3 separate regions of the Homo sapiens genome follow, and regions 2 and 3 are each linked to region 1. Evidence: promoter capture Hi-C in 16 types of primary human blood cells and fetal thymus (Javierre and others, 2016). All regions are on one chromosome and are shown on one strand. The core of a region is centred on a gene start or on the middle of the fragment in contact, and the rest is flanking DNA. Distances in the headings are between cores, read along the strand shown.

Region 1 (2,700 bases), core at 178-2,677:
ATATTTTTAAATATATATTATATATAAATATATTTTTAAATATATATTATATATAAATATATTTTTAAATATATATATATCTATGGTTTATAACTGTAGCCGTTCTTATACTAAGCAGTGGTTCTACTCTTTAGGAACAGGGATTATCAAACTATGGCCAGCAGGCTAAATCCAAAAAACAAAGCTTTATTGGAACGCTGCCATGTGCCTTTATTTATCTATGACTGCCTTCCCATTAGAACAGCAGAGTTGAGTGGCTGTGACAGAAACGGCATGGCCTGCAAAGCCTAAATATTTACCACATGGCCCTCCACAAAAATGTTTGCTGACTCTTTTGAGATTGCTTCCTCTCTCATCTGCATAAAAGATCCTTCATACCCTGCCCACTGCTCAGCGCTTACTTCCCAACCTATTGTCCCTCACTCCCTTTGTTCCAATTTTACAGAAATACTTGCAGTTATCTAAATTAGCCATGCTCTTGCTTAATTCAGAATCCATGTACTCCCGACTGTCTCCGCTCTGAATGTCATCCTCTCCTTGCCAAACCATTTCAAATGGTCCTTGAAACTTCAGTCATCTCCTCCTGCATCTTCCATGATGCCCGCCCCTCTAATGGACAACAAACTTTTGTGCAATACTGTAATTCTTACAGCAGCCTCCCTTACTAGTTCTTTAATGGCAGAAGTTATGTCTTTTGTTGCTTACTCCTATCCCTTAACACGTAGTTGACACACAGTAAGTGCTGGACACTTGGTTCAATTCTTGAGGGGCATCCACCGGCTTGTGTGGCTCTGGAGCTACCTGGGCTGGAAACGAATACTAGGGGGTGGCGAGGGCCAGCTGCCCTAAGCAGAGACACGTGGGCTACAGGGAGGTGAGGCAACCTCCGCAAACACCACCTGTTCCAGAAAAGCTCCAAATGCTCCAACGGGCGACCCCTCCCCTTTTCTAGCTTTTCTTGCATAGCTTGACATTTCCAACGGTAGTTAATTTGTGAGGGGTTTTTAGACCATAACTCTTGGGAGGAGAGACCTCGTATGTTATATCGATCTGGGCAGGCAGCAAGTCTTCCAAAGAAAGACTTCCTCCACCTCCGCCCGGTCCTCCCACCTCGGAGGACTCCAGGCTGCCCAGGGGCGGACCCCTGGGGCCCAGGTGAGAGGTGGCAGAGGGTGCCAGCATCGCGGGCGTCTAGGCCGAGAGGCCGGTCCCAGCCCGGCCAGGCCGCGCCGCCCCAAGCCTCCCAATCCCCCGGGTTCCCTCGGCTCCCCTCGCCCACCGGCGGCCTTGTTCCCATCTCCCTCACTCCCAACCCGGCGGCTCTCACCTCGGTCCCAGACTCAGCCCTATGGAAGGCACTACACATCGCCCCGAAGGCTCGGCGCAGGAGAGACTCAACTTTCCCGCCACCAACGCCATTCACCAACTGCGCAGACTCTACGGCCAGTCAAACCCGCCCACCCGCGCGCGTGCGCACTGCGCCAGGCCGCGGCCGGGGAGGCGGGAGCATGCGCAATAGGGTGTGCGGGCCTCCCCGCCCCGCCCCCAGTTCCTGTGACGTCAGACTTCCGCGTCCCCCGCGGCGCTCTCCCGCGTCCCCTTGGAGATCGCTCCGGGGTGGCGGGGACAGCTGGTGCTTTTCTTGTCTGTTGTAAACTTTGGTTCGTTATTATTATATTAGGTAAAGCTGGTCTTATGTATTAATTTGTTTAACCATTAAAAATAATTGTATTGCACAAGCAGGCCCCTTTGTCCGTTCTCGGGTTAAAAGCCTCTGGCTGTGTGTGCGATTCATGGTTAATTCTGGAAAAAAAGAGAAAAGTATACTGTATTTAAAAGAATTTTTAAAATATACCGAGCCTGTGGATTTATCAAGTTGCTTTTTGAGGTAGGCAGGAGGATCACTGGAAGTCGGGAGTTCGAGACCAGCCTGGCCAAAATGGTGAAACCCCGTCTACAGTAAAAATACAAAAATTAGCCAGGTGTGGTGGCGCATGCCTGTAATCCCAGCTACTCAGGGAGGCTGAGGCAGGAGAATCGCTTGAACCAGGGAGGCAGAGGTTGCAGTGAGCCGAGATCGCGCCATCACACCTGAGCGGCAGAGCGAGACTCTGTCTCAAAAAAAAAAAAAGACAAAAATTTGGATATAGTAGCATTGGCCATTATTATCAAGATGACAAAATGTTTTCTGGAATGAAAAAGTTTCATGCAAAGATATACTTTTCACCCACCTAGTTTAGTTTTCAAAAACGCTAGGAAAGAGCATATACCAATGAAGTATTTCTCATGGGTAATATTAAAGTTGCTCATTTTGTAAATTGGAATGGTTTTGGTTCCAAGTCACAGAAAACCCAACTCTTACGTCCTGAAACAAATGGGCTTTACCGGGTGACATCACTAGAAGTCCAAAGGTAAGACAGGCTTCAAGGTTAGTTTAATTGAGAGGCTTGATGAGGCAAACAAGTACCTCATTTCTTTTTACCTCAGATTCATGTTTTCTACCTTGGCCTCTTCTCTACGTAGGGCTGCGGGCCCGTATCTGAAACATTAACAACCATCAGGAATGAGGTTGGTCTGGTTAGCTTAGGCCTGAATCGTGTGCCCCACTTACTTTTCTTTTTTTCTTTTTTTTTTTTTTTTTGGAGACGGAGTCTCATTGCACTCTCGCCCAGGCTGGAGTGCAGTGGTACCATCTCGGCT
Region 2 (2,700 bases), core at 181-2,680, 520 kb before region 1:
TATTTTAAGATCTAAATTTATTTGTCATCTAGCCTAGATTTTATTACAGGCATACTACAAACAACTACCTGTTAAAAATAAGTCTTCAGAATGTTCTTCTGTGAAAGACATACCAGAGCAATAACCTGGATGGAGGAATGACTGGCAGTATTACTGTACAGGAAAAGCTTCCTTCAAAACATGATTATAAACATATCATTTGTATCAACCATTAGTTGGACACACTCAAATTACATAAAATCAAGTAAAGCAGACCTCTTTCACCATACTGTGAGCAAAGTGTTTTCTCTTAAAATGCACAAATAGTCTTAAATTTTATCTTTAAACAGGTTTTCCTATTGGGGTAACATCAATAAAAATGATTTTAAAATATTAAGATATTTACGGCCGGGCGCAGTGGCTCACACCTGTAATCCCAGCACTTTGAGAGGCTGAGGTGGGCGGATCACGAGGTCAGGAGTTTGAGACCAGCCTGGCCAACATGGTGAAACCCCATCTCTACTAAACTACAAAAATTAGCTGGGCGTGGTGGCACGCACCTGTAATCCCAGCTACTCAGGAGGCTAAGGCAGGAGAATTGCTTGAATTGGGAGGCAGAGTCTGCAGTGAGCCAAGAGGTGCCAATGCCCTTCAGCCTGTGGGACCAGAATGAGACTCCATCTCAAAAAAAAATTAAACTGGTAAAATTAAAGATTTTAATATTAGTGTTCTGTTTACTGAACTTTTAAAACATAACTCTGCCCACTTCTGTCAAATAACTAAGTTGAAAGAGTAGCACGACTCAAGGCTCCCTACACCCTCTCCTCCTCTGCCGGGTCAGCACCTGCTTTGGATTCCCCACACAGAGCTCCATGAAGGCAGGGACACATCTTTATTCACTCCCATATGCCCAGAACACAGAAGTCACTCGTTACACATTGTTATCAGCTGAGATTATCCTAATCTCACCTTGTTTTCTGAGTTTTTCGCTTGTGCAGTTGATGAATAAAGAATAAAGCAGTTATTACTACAGAAGACAATGTCCTTCTCTACCCTCTTGGTGCTTTCTCGGGAATCCTGAAAAGCAAAGAGAAATGTGTGGGAATCTCAACAAGTCAAAATTTAATAAAAACAGGATCTATACATTATTTTTATGTTATATTCAAAAGTGACAGTGGTTCTTTATCTTAATAGTAGAAAGGAAACTATGTTCCAATATTTAGCATGTGATAATTTAGCTAGGGAAAAAATACATGTATAAAACCAAACTATGTGGTCCACGGTTCACTCTATTTAAAAATACGTAGTCCTCATAATATTCCCTTTAACAGCCTGTTGTAGCTCTTTGGTGTTCAGCCCAAGCACATCTGATATACGCTGGTGCCATCACCAGGAACATGTGTCCATCACACCACCATAAGTGGTGTCTCTCTCTGATGTTGGAAGAGACACTGCCAAGGACATTTTCGCTGGAGGTAGGAGGTGGGGTCATAAAAGGAGTAGCAAAGTACCTTGTTCAAAAGGGTCAGATCTTTGAAAGATTTCCGCACACCACTTCCAAGAATAACCACTTTACAATGACAACACCACTGTGGTCTGAGTGCTGCGCTTTCTGCAATACCATGACTAGAATCCTTATATCCAGAAAGACCTAAAGGCAATCAACTTTTGTTAGTAATTAAAACTGACTGATGACACAAGGTGGCACATGGTGAAAAATTATGCAGTATCAACTCATTACAACATGGTTCATTAACATTATTCTTTAATTAATAAAAAAAATTTATCTTCTAAGCAATGGTTACAGAGTCGATTATCTGACACTAGGGCAAAAATAAAGAAACATGCCTATTCTCAAATAGCTGGGAAAGCAATGGCAGTATAAAAGAAGAATCTAATAAAACTAAGTCACCAAGAGAGATTACTATTCAGTCTAAGTACAAAGTAAGACAGAGAGGGAAACAGATATTACTTTTGCTTGCAGGTTAAGATGGTAAAAAAACATTTTATGAAAGATACAATGACATATGTATAAGAGTCTTAAATAAGTGTGACTTGCAGAGTCAGAAATGAGGAAAGAGCCAAGGCCAAGGATAAGAAGGTAAATAAGGACTCAGGAATTAGAAAGCATCATTCAGGTGCAGTGTGAAGGCAAAAAGGAGCAGGGAAAAAGTGACAGAACAGCTAGAAGCCAAGAGGAGGAAGCCAGGGCCTGGACTGAGCACGCCTGTAAGATTGCCAGTGAGGCAGGAAGGAAAGCGACATCATGGTCGGTCTAAGGAAGTTGTTCCATTCTCAGAGATGGGGGGCATGAACACCTCTGTGGGAAGAGAAGGGCCCTATAGAGCTGGTGCAGAGGTAAAACAAGAGGTAGGTGAGGATGGAAAGCAGAGGAGAACAGGAAACAGAACCCACGTCAGGTCACCAGCCCCATCTGTACCAGGTGGCCCAGGTGCAGCGGGATGGGGGTTGGGAGACAGGAAGAACAAAAGCTGCTCAAGGGCAAGCCCGTCACAGGCTTCTTCTGGCAGCCTGCACAGATGGCTGGCACTCACATAGCCCCTGGTGACAGCATGACAGAATACACAGGCCAAAGCACTAGAGGTCAAAATCACAGCACAGAAAACAGAACACCCACACATGGTAAGTTCACCAAGGACTATACGCCAGCATGTTACCTGTCCGTTGTTAAAAGATAATCAGTATCTCAAAGAGTAAGCT
Region 3 (2,700 bases), core at 78-2,577, 540 kb before region 1:
TGTTCAAGTGAGGCTCCCGCCTTGGCCTCCCGAAGGCTGTTTTTCAGATTACTATTAAATACATACCTTAATGATGAAAAAAGAATGGGGTAGAGACCTTAGAGGGAAAAGATTAAAGCAGCAATGTGGGAAGAAAGCCAGGAAAGGGTTCTGCTCCACAAGCAGGGGCTGGAGAGAATTTCAGAGACAGCGGCTGCCACCGCCACCAGAGACAGGAAACCCTAATGGCCAGATGATCATCTACCGCATCGGACACCACATCAGACTAAGTGTGTTTGTTTCTGTTTGGTGACTAGGACAGAGGGCAGTGCAGCCTCCACGTGACATGGGGCCAAAGGAGGATAGGAGAAGCTGAGGAGAGACTTGAGACAAGGCGGTTTTGAAATGGGAAATGTTTGAGCCATCTACATGCAAAACACCTCAGCTGCTGCCAGCTCCCTCCATGTCACGACCATCCGCCTAGCCCAGGGCACCCCTTGCTCCTCCTGGGACTCGTACGGAGCCCACTCAGCCTCAGTGTACACACGCTGGTGCCCACAGGCGGGCCACCTCTTCTGGGCAGCGTGTCACCTCTATGCACAGTGGGAACTCAGCACCGTCCGGCAGCAGCTTCCTGCTGACCCACGCGAGCTAAACCTGCGCCACTCACCCTTGCTTTTCTCTCATCTCACCTCCTGCCACTCTGTCCCAGCCACACCTGCCTTTCAGTTACTGGCAGCATCAGCCTCTTTCAGATCTCAAGGCTCCTGTATGAGTTGTCCCCTCTGCCAGGCAAGCCTCTGCCACGCTCCCAGCTCCTCTTCATCCTTCAGGTCTTGCTTAAATGCTGCCTCCTTAGAATGCCCCCACGGGACTCCCAGCCCACCTCCCATCTAAAAAAGTCACCTGTTTTTGTCCGTGCCCCTCACTAGAAGGCAAGCTCCATGGTGGACTAGGAATGCTGGCTATTTTAGTGTTAGCGAAGTCCCAGTTAAAAATCTGTCCTAGAAACTAAAGGGGATTCTGAGCAGTTTTTTTCTTAACCCCTTTATATTTAATACGTTAAATAATTCAATAAGATAGAAAGAAAGTCTACCACATAGAATAAAGTCTGAAAAGCTGCCTCAAAAAAAAAAAAAAAAAAAAAAAAACAGCAACATAACCAAGACTAAATTTACCAATTAAACAAAAACAGGCTTTGAACAAGGCACCAAGGATATTCTAAATTTGGTAAACACCCTAAAAAGATACAGAAGTTCCCTTCTTTATTCAGTCGAAGGGAAGGAAAAAGTATCATAATTAGAATGAATTATGAATTTACATCTAAACTTATTTGAAAATCTAAGAAAACCAAGTTGATCGCATCAACACTCTAATTGTGAAAGATCTATCAGATGGTCAGTGAACTTCAGACAATCCTCAATTTAAGAGCTCAAATTTGAATATGAGGAGTTAACACAGAAGCTCTAGGCAGCTCTTATAGATGTAAAATATTTTATTTGTAAATGGTGATCTTCTAAATCTGTGTCCACAAATTCCAAAACCCATAACACTCTGTATACTTCAAAAAATTCAATTTTTGCCAACATTAGATACTATTATACAGAACAGAAAACAACAAAAACCCGGTAGGACAAATACTGGTAGGATGTCAGGATATTGTACAAGAGAAGAAAAATATTCAGGAAACAAATTTCATACAGCTATTTATCAAGAGAAAAATATATACAATTGATTTATTCTGTAAGATAAAAATACATCATGCCATATACAAGTTCAGAACTGCATCACTGAATATACCAACAGTTTACAGTCCACTTGAATTGTGCACACAAAACTTCATTTTATACTTAGCCTGTGAAGTGTCAGTACCAGAATTTTAAGTACAAAATAAAAAGCTAACCTGGTTCAAAATGCTGATTAAGTTTCTACAAGCAAACACAAAACAGTGTTTTTTTTATTAAAGAAATGTAAACAAACAGTTCATACAAACACATTTTAAAATTACATCTTCCAAAAACCCTATTGCCAGAGTCCTGCAGCTGTAAGCATAATCACATCTCCTTTTTTTTTTTAACTTTTTCAAATTTTTGTGTTAAATAGAAGGCTAAAGGGTTAGATTTAAGTTTCTGCTACATGATCCTATTACGTTTACATGATTCTCTGTGGCTGAAACAAAGTTCTAATCAAAACTACTTTTGCTGAAGAAAAAATTCAGCCTCCATTTGGGTGTATTTTTAAGCAGTTATTCACAGTTATCACAAATTGTAAGCACAAAAAAACCTGACTGAAGAAGTAGGGATGCAACAATATAATATGAAAAAATTAGTTTAAATTACCAAAACAGCTATAAAAGTTGTAGTCGTAGCATACGCCCCGCTCTGTCAGAAGTAAGGTGTATAAAACCATTGAGTACTAATAGACTGCGGTTTCCAAAAAACCCCCAACACTCTAGGTTGAAATTTTGGTTATTACATAATTATAATGGCATATTTTATAACACAAAATTATATTGTAACATCCCTATGAACATTTTATAAGCCCCCGAGCTGCTGCAGAGCCTGGTAGCATTTGGTCAATAACTATTTTTATACTGTATTTTTTCTCAAAATATTTACATATCTGTACAAAGTAACAGGGTTTGTTAGTTCTGCAGGTAACAGCAGCAGCTTGGCTTTCTTCTAACTTTATTTAAAAATAGCTTCATTCACTTATTCAATA

The links. Contacts are between HindIII fragments. The CHiCAGO score rates a contact against its expected background, and 5 or more counts as called.
Region 2: a fragment that was not itself captured here is called in contact with the fragment with the promoter of XRCC2 in region 1 in 5 of 17 cell types (total B cells, erythroblasts, non-activated CD4 T cells and 2 more); the score reaches 7.5 in total B cells.
Region 3: a contact is called between a fragment that was not itself captured here and the fragment with the promoter of XRCC2 in region 1, in 1 of 17 cell types (fetal thymus). The highest score is 5.4, in fetal thymus.

What each region holds. Positions count from the first base shown.
Region 1 is chr7:152,674,714-152,677,413 of GRCh38, forward strand. It overlaps XRCC2 (X-ray repair cross complementing 2), which reads right to left and starts at 1,428. Exons shown (of 3, transcript NM_005431.2): 1 at 1,328-1,428. The coding sequence starts at 1,366. RefSeq lists silencers at 815-904, 1,205-1,674 and an enhancer at 905-1,749. The HindIII fragment of the contact is 16,438 bases long and covers 183-2,700 here.
Region 2 is chr7:152,149,952-152,152,651 of GRCh38, forward strand. It overlaps KMT2C (lysine methyltransferase 2C), which reads right to left. Exons shown (of 59, transcript NM_170606.3): 50 at 1,491-1,630; 51 at 949-1,056. Among named protein-coding and RNA genes, the nearest start is that of GALNT11, 130 kb to the left of the region's middle. The HindIII fragment of the contact is 2,531 bases long and covers 166-2,696 here.
Region 3 is chr7:152,133,469-152,136,168 of GRCh38, forward strand. KMT2C (lysine methyltransferase 2C) reads right to left here. Exons shown (of 59, transcript NM_170606.3): 59 at 1,457-2,700. LOC731075 (a long non-coding RNA gene) reads right to left here and starts at 1,104. Exons shown (of 3, transcript XR_001745432.2): 1 at 1-1,104. The HindIII fragment of the contact is 3,825 bases long and covers 1-2,700 here.